Linked DNA regions of Homo sapiens: regions 2, 3, 4 and 5 are each linked to region 1. The links are contacts of gene promoters, found by promoter capture Hi-C in blood cells and fetal thymus (Javierre and others, 2016). All regions are on one chromosome and are shown on one strand. Each heading gives the region's core, a stretch centred on a gene start or on the middle of the fragment in contact. The rest is flanking DNA. Distances are from core to core; before and after follow the strand shown.

Region 1 (2,700 bases), core at 149-2,648:
GACCCTACTATTGTCACTCCTAAATTTTGTTTGTTTGTTTGTTTGTTTGTTTGTTTGTTTGTTTTTGAGACAGAGTTTCACTCTGTCGCCCAGGCTGGAGTGCAGTGGTGTGTTCTCGGCTCACTGCAAGCCCTGCCTCCCGGGTTCACGCCATTCTCCTGCCTCAGCCTCCCCAGTAGCTGGGACCACAGGCGCCCGCCACCACGCCCGGCTAATTTTTTGTATTTTTAGTAGAGATGGGGTTTCACCGTGTTAGCCAGGATGGTCTCGATCTCCTGACCTCGTGATCTGCCCGCCTCGGCCTCCCAAAGTGCTGGGATTACAGACGTGAGCCATCGCGCCCAGTCTGTCACTCCTAACTTCTAATCTGCTCTAGGGAGAGTCCCAATAGTCCATCTTGCATACTGAAGATTAAGTGAATTTCACAGCCAACACCACACAATACCTTCTCTATTGAGCTGTAAGCTGCCTCTGGACTGGATGGTGTTTTGTTTTTATTTTTACCGTCAGCACCAGTGCCTCTCACATAGAATTTAGCCAAGCCGGTTAGGTGTTAAGTGCTGCTGCTGCGCTGTCAGAAGGGCACACGGGGCTGGTTCTAGACCGGCCTCTGCTGCTTACTCGTTCAGTAATCTTCTACAGCAAGTTCTTGAACTTCTCTGGGCCTGTTTTCTACCTCGCCGAGTGGTTAACTGCGTTTAGGATCTTGGAAGCACCTAAGCACGAAAAGCACATAGGCCAGAAGTTAAGATGTCCCTTGGGGACGCAAATACCGGGAATTTCTCCGGCTGTTCCCACCGATCAAGCACCAGGGCTCTCAGGTCTAGCTCCTTCGTCTCCCCACCCCCACATATACCCTCACTTTTTCTTCCTTTCCCTATGCCTCGCAGTCCCTCAACAGGGTCTGCGGTCAGACGTCACTCCCAGGTGACTGGCAATCAGGGATGCCGCCTCGCTCACCTGGCCACCCTTGAAGATTGTGGATCCTGCACCGGCTAGCCGGCTGGCAGAGGGCGCGCCAACAGCCGCCAGCCGAAGTGCCCCCGCGTAGGTGGGAGGAGTGACTGCCTCTCACCATCCCCCGGGGATGCACCTGTGGAGAGACGGCCCGAGAGTTCCAGGGTGAGTGCGCAGAGGAGCTTATCTGCCTGCCTGCGGGTCGGTGTGTCCTGCCGGCTGCTGGGCGCTGGCCTGCGTCGCCTGCTTGTCTCGCTCCCTGTCCCTCGTCCGCTACCCCCTCTGCCCCCCCTCCCTCCAGCAGCCGGCCTCTCGGTCATCCCGCCGGGTGGGTGCCTGCGAACCTCACTCCTCCCTCCTCTGCAGGAGCCAACTGGCGAGCCGCAGGCCGCCGGGCTCGGCCTGGGAGCCCATAAAACCCGCCCGAGCCGCGCCGCTGCGCTCCAGCCGCTGCTCACCAGGCAGAGCGAGCGGGCTTGGCTGGGGCTTCCTGCCCTGAGCGCGACACCGACTGCCCCGGACCGCGCCTCCAAGCAGGCTGAAGGGCTTCCGCTCTTGGCTTCCAGAAAAGTTTGGAGAAAGAGAATTTGAGGCGGATTGGAGGGTGGTAGCCCCTCCCCAGCCTTCTTTCCCTCCCAGAAGCCTCACTCTGCACAGCGTCCCCCATTCTTCCCGTCCTGATTCCCCATCTTCCTGACCCCTCCTTCTCCCTCTCCTGGGTCGATCCCAGTCACATTTTCTCCTTCCGAATCTCATCCTCCCTCCTCCTCTCTATCCCAGTCCTCTGAACGATTTCCGCCTATTTGCAAGCCTTCTCCCTGTCATTCTCAACGCTTCTCCTTTCTCTCCACCTCCCCTGCCACTCCATTTTATCCATCAAACCTCTCCACTTGCATCCACACCCTCCCTTCATCCTTCCCTCCCAGCAAACCTTGCTCATGGATTCTGGGCCTCTGTGGGATGCCAACCCCACCCCTCGGGGCACCCTCTCTGCCCCCAATGCCACAACACCCTGGCTGGGCCGGGATGAGGAGCTGGCCAAGGTGGAGATCGGAGTCCTGGCCACTGTCCTGGTGCTGGCGACCGGGGGCAACCTGGCTGTGCTGCTGACCCTGGGCCAGCTGGGCCGCAAGCGCTCCCGCATGCACCTGTTCGTGCTGCACTTAGCCCTGACAGACCTGGCCGTGGCGCTCTTCCAGGTGCTGCCACAGCTGCTGTGGGACATCACCTACCGCTTCCAGGGCCCCGACCTCCTGTGCAGGGCCGTCAAGTACCTGCAGGTGCTCAGCATGTTTGCCTCCACCTACATGCTGCTGGCCATGACGCTGGACCGCTACCTGGCTGTCTGTCACCCCCTGCGCAGCCTCCAGCAGCCAGGCCAGTCCACCTACCTGCTCATCGCTGCTCCCTGGCTGCTGGCCGCCATCTTCAGCCTCCCTCAAGTCTTCATTTTTTCCCTGCGGGAGGTGATCCAGGGCTCAGGGGTGCTGGACTGCTGGGCAGACTTCGGCTTCCCTTGGGGGCCACGGGCCTACCTCACCTGGACCACCCTGGCTATCTTCGTTCTGCCGGTGACCATGCTCACGGCCTGCTACAGCCTCATCTGCCATGAGATCTGTAAAAACCTAAAAGTCAAGACACAGGCCTGGCGGGTGGGAGGAGGGGGCTGGAGGACTTGGGACAGGCCCTCACCTTCCACCTTAGCTGCCACCACTCGGGGGCTGCCATCTCGGGTCAGCAGCA
Region 2 (2,700 bases), core at 63-2,562, 180 kb after region 1:
GTATGGCTTGTGGGGACACCAGGGGTCAGGGGAGGGGAGGGTCCACCTGCTGAATCAAGTGGGGCCTCCTGCCCTCGTGATTCCCCTTTGCCTGGTGCTCAGTGGGGGTGATGGTGACGCCACAGGTGTGGAGTGCCAGCCACGTGCTGAGCGCCAAGCAAAACAGCCAGGGTGAGTCTATGCATCATCAGTGCCTGGGAAGGAAGGCCACTGCGAGCAGGGAGTCTGACGGAAAAACTTGACAGAGGGAAGGGAGGCACCTTGCTTTATCGGGGCGGGGAAGGCCAGAATAAAACTCTGCTACTGCAAGGACCAGAGAGAGAAGGCCTGGGCTGGCACTAGGGAGGGATGTTCCCTCACCCTCCCCTCCTCTGCTTCTCCCAAAGCTTGTAAATGCCCCAGATATGAGCCAGCCCAGGCCCCGCTACGTGGTAGACAGAGCCGCATACTCCCTTACCCTCTTCGACGATGAGTTTGAGAAGAAGGACCGGACATACCCAGTGGGAGAGAAACTTCGCAATGCCTTCAGGTAACTGGTCCAGAGCCCAGACTTCTGCCTCCTCTGCTCCCTACCAAAATCCTTTCTGCACCAGGACACGGCTTCTGCACTGGTATCCCTAAGATGGGGTTAAGGGAAGCCCTGGGGAAGTGAGGTTCTGAATGATGAATTTAAGATCCTACAACCTCATCTGTACTGAGACCCCCAGGGAGGATGGGGAGCAGGAGCAAGAACCATCCAGAAGGGTTATATGGCATTCCCAAACCCCTGCATGGCATCTCCCATATTCTCAATTCACCCGGGTCTCTCTGGGTTTGTTAAGGCATGGTAGATGAGCATCTACGTTATGGAGGGGTGGGGAGCATCAGAGCCCTTACTCCATGCCCTGTTCCCTCCTTACAAAAAATACCTGAAGTTACCATCACCCCAGGTTCTTTGTCCTTTCCCTCCCGGATGTTCCTTCCTCCACTTGGTCCAGAGAATGCCAAAAGGAGGCCCTAAATTTCTGAACTTTCCTGAGGGGACCTACCAGGGTGTAGTCCTACCAGCGCCCAGGGTCTTTCCACTCTCATCTCCCTGGAAATGCGATGGTGGGTATGAAACCTTGTCCCTAAGTAGGCGCTACACAAGGTGATCCATACCCACACCCCAGGAGGCTGGGGCTGCGGGTGTCACCCTCCCCATTCCCAGACTCCTGGCAGACCTCCTCTGGCCCAGCTATAGGCCAACTCACTCTCCCTCACTCCCTTGGGGAAACGGCTGATTCAGTTACCTGGATTGAGGTCACTGGCAATGGCTGAAGTGGAGACGCAGGTGGAACTGGTTCAGGCCGGGGGAATCACCCACTTGAGTTTGTACTAAAAGCCCCAGCCCAGCCCTGTTTCTCTTGGGAGGCTCCATTTCTGCCCAGTTACAGTCTGTCCTCACAGCTGTGCTCCTCAGACAGGTGGTCTCTGCCAGTCTTTGTGCCCAAGACTTTAGGGCACAAAGTCTGAGGATGAGAAGATCTGCTATTGTCCTAAAAGATTAGGATAATGAAAGCTGTAAAGGGATATAGCAAACTAACAATTCCTATGATACTGGCATGAGAGCCTTGAACAGTGCCTGGCATAGAGAAGGTGCACCAATAAATATTTGTTTCATGAATGAATGAATGAATGAATGTCTAGAAAGCTAATCCCTCTCAGCCTCTGTTTCCAGTTCTTCTTTCAAGCTTCAGATTGCTTTGCCCAACATACAGCAGACTTGCAAGTAAGGTTGGGCATGGACTAGCCCTCAAATGAGTTGTTTTTCTTTCCCTAGCCAGCTCTCTATTCATAAGTCCGGCTTTCTCTGCCACAAACAGACCTGATGGAGCCCCTGCAGGGCTGGTTCTCTCTTCAAGCAAGGCTTTAGAGTTGCATTAAGCAATTTATCCCCCGTCCACCTCCCCTTCCAGCATCCCAGGGATGGCAGAGGCACCCATGAGCCCCAGAAAGGACAGGGGGTAAGATATTGATGATGATGCTTTTTCTTGGAGTGTTAGTTGGAAGAGAAAATCTGCCCAGACTTTCCAAGGTACAAAGCATTGTCTTTGTTGGTTTCAGTCTTGGGTGACATCCAGGGGACCGAGTGTCAGGGAAACTATTGTTGAGCAAGAGCAAAGAGCAGGAATTGGTGCTGGGCAGGAAAGGAAGCCTCATCAGAGCAGGCCAGTGAGTCACCAAATGGGCCCTAAGTATTTGAGTTCCCTCAACTGGGAGAAGGAAAGCAAATGCCCCTCACCCACTTCCAGTCATCAATCCACCGGCTGTCACCCTTGAGTTTGTAAGCCCTTGTTCCTACCGCTCCTGAGTTTCTATGAAAGGACCTTGAGGTGTTCAACAAACAGGGAAGGGATCAACTCTCCCCACCCTGCGTTGACCAATGAATTCTTCCCTCCTCTGCTGCCCAGTGAATTAACAGGAGAAAGAACTCCGGTATTGGAGTTACCACACATAAAGGATAGTGAGTCAGCAGAGTGCACCCTGCAGGAACAATAGAGCCTTCCTTTTCAAGGAAGTTCTAAGAAAAATGGCAGCAGGCAGGCCCCACTCGGGTGTATTCACTCATTCATTTATTCAACAAATATTTACTAAGTGCCCCTGTGCAAGGCTCGAGGTGTACAAAGATGAACAGGAGAGCTAGACTTCTTGCCATGCGTGGTGGGGTTTGCTGCCTAG
Region 3 (2,700 bases), core at 69-2,568, 160 kb after region 1:
TTCCTTGTATGTAAAACTTATCTCCATAGAAAAAAATAACTGTGACAAATATTGAACTTTGTTAATGATATGATGCTGAAGTATTGGCCTAAATGGCTACTGATGTCTGCACCGTGCTTTGAAATGCTTCCAAAAATACAAGGGATCGATGGATGGATAGAGGAATGGGTAGTTGGGTAGATATGTGTTCTGCAACACAGAACAAAATGTTAAGGGAAGACTCTAAGTGGTGGGTATACGATGTTCATCATAGAAGTCTTTCAACTTTTCTATATGTTGGAGAAAAATTTTTCATGATAAAATGTGGAGATAGGAAGAATTAGGGGCAGAGAATCATCCTACCTCCGTAGGACCCTCTCAGCTCCTCTCCCAAGGCCTTGGTTTGTTTGCTTTGGTGGAGCAGAGGCCAGCAGCTGTTCTGTAGCTCTCCTCCCTGGCTTCCTTCTCACACTATCCCCTGTGTTCATTTGCTTGGGCAGTCCCAATAACTGCTGTAGATGTCACTGGACCGCCAGACACATGGAAATCTGCATCTCACAGACCCCCCACCACTTCACTGTTCTGAGAGCCAAAGGGTCCTGCTTCCCAGGTAACCACTTGCCCAGCAGGCAAGTAGCCCCCCTTCTCTGTATTCAAAGCCAAGAATGCTCTTTCTCTCCCACTCCCAGGCATAGACATAAGCAAGGGGTATATTTCCTATGTGCCTCTTGCTTCATTCTTTCATTGCTTTTCTTTCTGCCTGGGCTTGAAGGCTTTCACCAGTAAGGTTTTACACATTATTCATCCAGCTACTTCTAGGCAAGTCCACTTGAACTGTCTCTACCAGCCCCACCCCCACCCCCTTCACCAGAGGATAAGCATTTTTTTTATGTTTATAGAAACTATCATACACCCTTCAGAATATTCCACACCATCCAGTCTCTGATCTAATACCCATACCCTGGGAAGCTTTCCTTTGTGTCTAACCTGAATCCTGCATGCTGCTTTTCTATAGAAGCTGAGGGGCCTGGGGCTTGGGGTCTGTGGTTCTTGATCTGGGTGTGCTCATGTCAGGTGTGCAGGGCTGTGTTTGTGTAATTGGTGGGGCAGCAAAATCAGGTGCACTAGGGTCAAACCAACCTTTCTTCCCTACTGGCCCTTTATCCTACACTCCACCCAGGCACCTGGTGTGGCTGGGCTACTTGAGGTGAAAGAGCAAGTCCCCACCCCACCCCCACCCCAGTCTCCCTGGGCTAAGGACTTGTCTCAGATGACACTTCTCCACCCAGAGGACAGCCTAGTGTGGTTCACCTTGGGTTAATCCATCTGGAAGCAGCAGCCCCAGGACACCTCTTCCTCCCCAAACCCCAACTTCCTCAGACAAATCTAAGCCCACAGAACAATTTACCTTACAGTCTTAGAGTAAGGGCAGGAATTGGAATAGGAACCAGGTATGTGACAACAACAAACTCTCTACTTGGTCTGGGAGAGGCCGGCATGTCTTTCACATTTACAGAAGAAGAAACTGAGACCTCAGTTGGTGAAATGTCTCCCCCAAAGTCAACACAATTCCCTCTTCTCGAAGCCATCCTCAATGTTCACAACTTCCTGAGTGTAAGTCACAAACCATCATTTTTCAGCCTGGCAGTGTATAGAAATAAGAGCACAAGGCTAGAAGTCAGGAACCCTGAGAGCTAACCCAAGCTTGGGCATATCCTAGGTGGGGGTAACGGATCCTCAGTCTCCACATATGCAAAATGGGGATAAATAGCTTCAGATAATGCATACTAAAGCACTCTATAAACTCTAAGTGCCCTACAAATGCAAGGAACTATTAAAGCACTATTTTTTCTTAACCTCGATTAGTAGCACAACTTCATCTATCACCTGCTTACTATAAGAGACAATAAGAGGGGCCTGGAAGTTACTAAACCCACAGGGTTCTTTCCTGATCCAAAAGACCTCCAATGCTTGCTTTCTCTTCTCACTCTAAGCAGGAGACAGAGGTGAGCCAAGCAGGAAGACTATGCCCTCATCCAATGAGGCTTAACTTATGCTGGGGCATTAATTACCAAGCTTCCATTGTTAAAGATGCACAGGGCTAGGTGACCTGGAAGACCCTATACTAGAATCCAGAGTCTGGGTAGGTCTGATGAGCTAGTGAATCAAAGGTCCTCCAGACCTCTATTTACAGGAAAGGAAGAGTCCCTGTGATCAAATCCCTTGGTGCAGAGAAGAACTCAGGAAATGGGCTTCTATGACCTCTTTCCCCAGCTAGGCCCTTGGGTTCCATCCAGCCCTTAGAGAGGGGGTTGGGGGGACGGTGCAGGACTACAGCAGAAGCAGAAAGAGCTGTTCTCACCAGGGACTTAATGAGACTCAGGACCCATGTGTGTGTTAAAGACTAATGTCCCATTATAAAGAGAACCTCAATACAGTAGATTACAGAATATAGGAGTTTTTCTCTTCTTGGGACACTAGTGAGTCTCAAAGTGAGCAGTCCTGGCTGCTGGCATTCTCAGCTTCCTGAGGTCATTCACAGGCCCAGGTTCCTTCCCCCTGTTGCTTTCCCACTTGCCAGGCCATTGTTATCATGCATAGTGAAATCTGGGTCCCCACCACATCTAGGCTCCAGCTGGCAGGAAGAGGAGAGGGCATGCAGGAAGCATGCCCAACAACTCAAGACCCAGACCTGTAAGTGGCCGGCCTCATTCTCCATTC
Region 4 (2,700 bases), core at 42-2,541, 240 kb after region 1:
AGGCTAGCCCACCTGGCATCCTAGTCCCTAGCAAAAACTTCACCACAGCCTCCACTAATAACTGCACCCTAAGTCACTGAGGAAATCACAGATACCACTGATTGTATTTACAACTGAAAAAAACCATAGAAAGATTATACCAGTGCACTCACCCAAAATCAAAGCCAAAGTGCCCTACCCGCCGAAAACACATATACATCCTGAATAAATACTCCTCTATGAAAGCAAATACAAAAAATTGGAATAAGCAACTGTTACACTAGGTGCACAGATGTCAATGTAAAGGCACAGGAAACATGAAAAAGTAAAGGAATCTAAATGTTTTCTTGGACTGTTTGTTTTTACATAAAAAAAAGAAAAAGTAAAGGAATCTGATACTTCCAAAGGAACACAATAAATCTCCAACAGCAGATCCCATAAAAGAAATTATGAAATCCCAGATAAATAATTCAAAATACAGAGTTTAAGAGAGCTCAGAGAGATGTGAGATAATTCTGAAAAACAATACACAGAAATAAAAAAACAATTCAGGATATGAATGAGAACTTTACTGAAGAGATAGTTTTTTTTTTATTCTGGAACTGAATAATTCATTGAATTAAATACAAAATACATTTGAAAGCTTCAATAGTCTAGATCAAACAGAAAAAAGAATTTCAGAACTTGAAGACAAGTCTTTTGAACTAATCCAGGCAGATTAAAATAAAGAAAAAATTAGAAAGAATAAGCAGAGCTTTTGTAACCTTTGGTACAACATAAAGTGAACAAATATTCAAATTACCACTGTCCCTGAGAGTGAAGAGAAAACAAAGGGTTAGAAAACTTATTTAACAAAATATTAGTTGAAAACTTCCCAAATCTAGCAAGAGATCTAGATATCCAGATGGAGGAGGCCCAAAGATTCCCTAACAAATATAATGGAAAAAGATCTTCTCCATGGCATATTGTAATCAAACTGTCTAAAGTCAAAGCAAAGTATAGAATACTAAAAACAGTAAGAGAAAAGCAACTAGTCACCTATAAAGAAACCCATATCAAAACCTTGCAGGCCAGGAGAGAATGGGATAACATATTGAAAGTGCTGGGAGAAAAAACCTGCCACCCAAGGACACTACATCCAGCAAAATTCATAAATGAAGGAGAAACAGTTTTTCCCAGACAAGTAAATTCTGAGGGAACACACCACAAGACCAGCCCTACAAGAAATGTCCAAGGGAGTCCTGAACTTGGAAGTGAAAGGACATTTACCATAATAAAAACACACAAAAGTATAAAACTCACTGGTAAACCAAATACATAAATGAGGAAGAGATAGGACTTAAGTGGTACCACTACAGTAAACCACCAAACCACAATTACTATCAACAAGAGGGAAGAAAAGAACAAAGAATATACAAAACAACCAGAAAATAATTAACAATATGACAGTAATAAAACCTCCATATCAATAATAGCCTTGAATGTGAATGAATTAAATTTTCCACTTAAAAAATATAGACTGGCTGAATGGATAAAGAAACAAAATCCAACAAAATAGTGCCTACAAGAAAGAAACATCTACACTCAAAGGAATGGAAAAAGATATTCCATGCAAATGGAAACCAAAAGCAAGCAGAAGTAGCTATACTTATATCAGATAAAATTAAGTCAAAAAGAGTAAAAAGGGCTGGGTGTGGTGGCTCACGCCTGTAATCCCAGCACTTTGGGAGGCTGAGGTGGGCAGATCACTTGAGGTGAAGAGTTCAAGACAAGCCTGGCCAACATGGCAAAACCCCATCTTTACTAAAAATACAAAAAAAAAAAAAAATGTGCCGGGCATAATGGCAGGCATTTGTAATCCCAGCTACTTGGGAGGTTGAGGCACTGGTATAAAAACAGACACATAGACCAATGGAACAGAATAGACAGTCCAGAAATAAATCCACACATTCACAGCTAACTGATTTTCAATAAAAGCTTCAAGAACATACACTGGGGGAAAGATACCCTCTTCAATAAATGATGTTGGGAAAATTGGATATCTGTATCCAGAAGAATGAAACTGGACCCTTTTCTCTCCCCATACACAAAAATCACTGAAGATGGATTAAAACTGTAAACATAAGACCCGAAACTATAAAACTGCTAGGAAAAAACATAGAGAAAATATTTTAAGACATGAGTCTAGGCAAAGATTTTATGGCTAAGACCTCAAAAGCACAGAAACTATAACAAAAATAGACAAATGGGACTATATTGAACTAAAAAGCTTCTACACATCAAAGGAAACAATCAACAGAGTGAAGAGACAACTTACTGAATGGGAGAAAATATTTGCAAACTATTCATCTGACAAGGGACTAATAGCCAGAATATACAGGAATATCAAACAACTCAACAATAATAAAAAAACAAATAATCTCATTTAAAAGTGGGCAAATGACATGAATACATATTTCTCAAAAGAAGACATACAGACTGGGCATGGTGGCTCACATCTGTAATCCCAGCATTTTGGGATGCCAAGGCAGGAGGATTACTTGAGGTCAGGAGTTTGAGACCAGTCTGAGAAATATACTGAGACCCTGTCCCCACAAAAATTTAAAAAATTAGCCAGGCATGGTGGTGCGCACCTGTAGTCCCAGCTACTCAGGAGGCTGAGACAGGAGGATCACTTGAGCACAGGAGTTTGAGGTTACAGTGAGCTATGATCCTGCCACT
Region 5 (2,700 bases), core at 68-2,567, 200 kb after region 1:
AAATAGCTTATCAACGTGAGAAAGGACTTCAGAGCTTGTCTACTGCCAACCCTCATTTTACCCAATGAGGAAAGTGAAGCTATTAGGGGGCGAGGGACACGTGGAAGGTCACACAGCACACAGGAGGTGATTCACATGTAGATTTCAGCACCTGCTCCTGCCACGCTGGACTGGTTCACCTCCTAGGCTGACCCTGCCTCTCCCCTGTTCACACACACTCTCGCACACACACACACACACACACACACACACAGGTGCTTTGTTCTGGCCAGGGGTTCCTAGGGTCACCTCTTGGTTGCAGCCACTGTGACCCCAACTGGTCTAACCTCTCTCTTCCCCTCCCACTTCCTTCCTGTGGTTCCTGCAGGAGATGTTCGGGAGCATGTTTCACGCAGAGACCCTGACCGCCCTGTGAGGGCTCAGCCAGTCCTCATGCTGCCTACAGAGTGCCTGGCACTTGGGACTTCCATAAAGGATGAGCCTGGGGTCACAGGGGGTGTCGGGCGGAGGAAAGTGCATCCCCCAGAGCTTGGGTTCCTCTCTCCTCTCCCCCTCTCTCCTCCCTTCCTTCCCTCCCCGCATCTCCAGAGAGAGCCTCTCAGCAGCAGGGGGGTGCTACCCTTACAGGAGTGAGAGTCTGGTGAGCCCACTCTTCACCCGTCAGGCCCTGGCCGCAATGGACAAGCCTCCTGCTCACTCCACCCCACCCACCTCTGCCCTGTCCTTGGCAGCTGAAGGACACCTTGACTTCCAGCTTTTACGAGTGAGCCAAAAACAGAAGGACAAGTACAACTGTGCTGGCCTGCTGTACAAGCTTCAAAAAGTGTCCCAGAGCCCACACGGCTCGGTGTCAGATGGTGTCAGGCTGTCACGGACATAGGGATAAACTTGGTTAGGACTCTGGCTTGCCTTCCCCAGCTGCCTCAACTCTGTCTCTGGCAGCTCTGCACCCAGGGACCATGTGCTCTCCACACCCAGGAGTCTAGGCCTTGGTAACTATGCGCCCCCCCTCCATCATCCCCAAGGCTGCCCAAACCACCACTGCTGTCAGCAAGCACATCAGACTCTAGCCTGGACAGTGGCCAGGACCGTCGAGACCACCAGAGCTACCTCCCCGGGGACAGCCCACTAAGGTTCTGCCTCAGCCTCCTGAAACATCACTGCCCTCAGAGGCTGCTCCCTTCCCCTGGAGGCTGGCTAGAAACCCCAAAGAGGGGGATGGGTAGCTGGCAGAATCATCTGGCATCCTAGTAATAGATACCAGTTATTCTGCACAAAACTTTTGGGAATTCCTCTTTGCACCCAGAGACTCAGAGGGGAAGAGGGTGCTAGTACCAACACAGGGAAAACGGATGGGACCTGGGCCCAGACAGTCCCCCTTGACCCCAGGGCCCATCAGGGAAATGCCTCCCTTTGGTAAATCTGCCTTATCCTTCTTTACCTGGCAAAGAGCCAATCATGTTAACTCTTCCTTATCAGCCTGTGGCCCAGAGACACAATGGGGTCCTTCTGTAGGCAAAGGTGGAAGTCCTCCAGGGATCCGCTACATCCCCTAACTGCATGCAGATGTGGAAAGGGGCTGATCCAGATTGGGTCTTCCTGCACAGGAAGACTCTTTAACACCCTTAGGACCTCAGGCCATCTTCTCCTATGAAGATGAAAATAGGGGTTAAGTTTTCCATATGTACAAGGAGGTATTGAGAGGAACCCTACTGTTGACTTGAAAATAAATAGGTTCCATGTGTAAGTGTTTTGTAAAATTTCAGTGGAAATGCACAGAAAATCTTCTGGCCTCTCATCACTGCTTTTCTCAAGCTTCTTCAGCTTAACAACCCCTTCCCTAACAGGTTGGGCTGGCCCAGCCTAGGAAAACATCCCCATTTCTAACTTCAGCCAGACCTGCGTTGTGTGTCTGTGTGTTGAGTGAGCTGGTCAGCTAACAAGTCTTCTTAGAGTTAAAGGAGGGGGTGCTGGCCAAGAGCCAACACATTCTTGGCCCAGGAGCATTGCTTTTCTGTGAATTCATTATGCCATCTGGCTGCCAATGGAACTCAAAACTTGGAAGGCGAAGGACAATGTTATCTGGGATTCACCGTGCCCAGCACCCGAAGTGCCAAATTCCAGGAGGACAAGAGCCTTAGCCAATGACAACTCACTCTCCCCTACTCCACCTCCTTCCAAGTCCAGCTCAGGCCCAGGAGGTGGGAGAAGGTCACAGAGCCTCAGGAATTTCCAAGTCAGAGTCCCCTTTGAACCAAGTATCTAGATCCCCTGAGGACTTGATGAAGTGATCCTTAACCCCCAAGTAATCATTAACCCCCAGACCAGCCTCAGAACTGAAGGAGATTGTTGACCCAGTGACCTGGAGTTGAGGCTCAGGGAGAGATCTGCCACATGTCTGAGGGTTGCAGAGCCCGCTGTGGAGGTAAGATTGGAAACACATGAGGCAGAGGGAAGACATTGAAGAAAACATCTCTGCTGGAATATTTGGAAAAGAACACTCTTCTGGACCTGGTTGAAGCAGGAAAGATGGAGGCAAAGTAGTGAAATAATCCAGAATTTCAATGCTTTTGAATGTTCTTAGTGATACTGACCTGTGATAATATAATTCCCAGGGAGGACTGGGAACCTTATCTCTTGAGATATTTGCATAATTTATTTAATTTAAGCCTCATTCTCCTTTTGTTCATTTTGGTAATA

The links. Contacts are between HindIII fragments. The CHiCAGO score rates a contact against its expected background, and 5 or more counts as called.
Region 2: a contact is called between the fragment with the promoter of SLC26A9-AS1 here and the fragment with the promoter of AVPR1B in region 1, in 10 of 17 cell types (M0 macrophages, erythroblasts, M2 macrophages and 7 more). The highest score is 11.8, in M0 macrophages.
Region 3: a contact is called between a fragment that was not itself captured here and the fragment with the promoter of AVPR1B in region 1, in 8 of 17 cell types (erythroblasts, M0 macrophages, M2 macrophages and 5 more). The highest score is 8.4, in erythroblasts.
Region 4: a fragment that was not itself captured here is called in contact with the fragment with the promoter of AVPR1B in region 1 in 5 of 17 cell types (M0 macrophages, M2 macrophages, M1 macrophages and 2 more); the score reaches 6.7 in M0 macrophages.
Region 5: a fragment that was not itself captured here is called in contact with the fragment with the promoter of AVPR1B in region 1 in 8 of 17 cell types (M0 macrophages, endothelial precursors, M1 macrophages and 5 more); the score reaches 18.1 in M0 macrophages.

The regions. Positions count from the first base shown.
Region 1 is chr1:206,116,086-206,118,785 of GRCh38, reverse strand. It overlaps AVPR1B (arginine vasopressin receptor 1B), which reads left to right and starts at 1,398. Exons shown (of 2, transcript NM_000707.5): 1 at 1,398-2,700. The coding sequence starts at 1,896. AVPR1B-DT (AVPR1B divergent transcript) reads right to left here and starts at 1,003. Exons shown (of 3, transcript NR_186693.1): 1 at 961-1,003; 2 at 446-716. RefSeq lists a silencer at 284-578. The HindIII fragment of the contact is 5,056 bases long and covers 1-2,700 here.
Region 2 is chr1:205,933,525-205,936,224 of GRCh38, reverse strand. It overlaps SLC26A9-AS1 (SLC26A9 and RAB7B antisense RNA 1), which reads right to left and starts at 1,312. Exons shown (of 4, transcript NR_110984.1): 1 at 1,272-1,312; 2 at 458-617. SLC26A9 (solute carrier family 26 member 9) reads left to right here. Exons shown (of 21, transcript NM_052934.4): 2 at 387-529. The coding sequence starts at 405. The HindIII fragment of the contact is 1,326 bases long and covers 389-1,714 here.
Region 3 is chr1:205,951,825-205,954,524 of GRCh38, reverse strand. All of the region lies in intron 2 of SLC26A9-AS1 (SLC26A9 and RAB7B antisense RNA 1), which reads right to left. Among named protein-coding and RNA genes, the nearest start is that of SLC26A9, 9.7 kb to the right of the region's middle. The HindIII fragment of the contact is 735 bases long and covers 951-1,685 here.
Region 4 is chr1:205,876,850-205,879,549 of GRCh38, reverse strand. All of the region lies in intron 1 of PM20D1-AS1 (PM20D1 antisense RNA 1), which reads right to left. Among named protein-coding and RNA genes, the nearest start is that of PM20D1-AS1, 16 kb to the right of the region's middle. The HindIII fragment of the contact is 1,334 bases long and covers 625-1,958 here.
Region 5 is chr1:205,913,072-205,915,771 of GRCh38, reverse strand. SLC26A9 (solute carrier family 26 member 9) reads left to right here. Exons shown (of 21, transcript NM_052934.4): 21 at 368-2,700. The coding sequence ends at 415. Among named protein-coding and RNA genes, the nearest start is that of SLC26A9-AS1, 20 kb to the left of the region's middle. The HindIII fragment of the contact is 1,001 bases long and covers 817-1,817 here.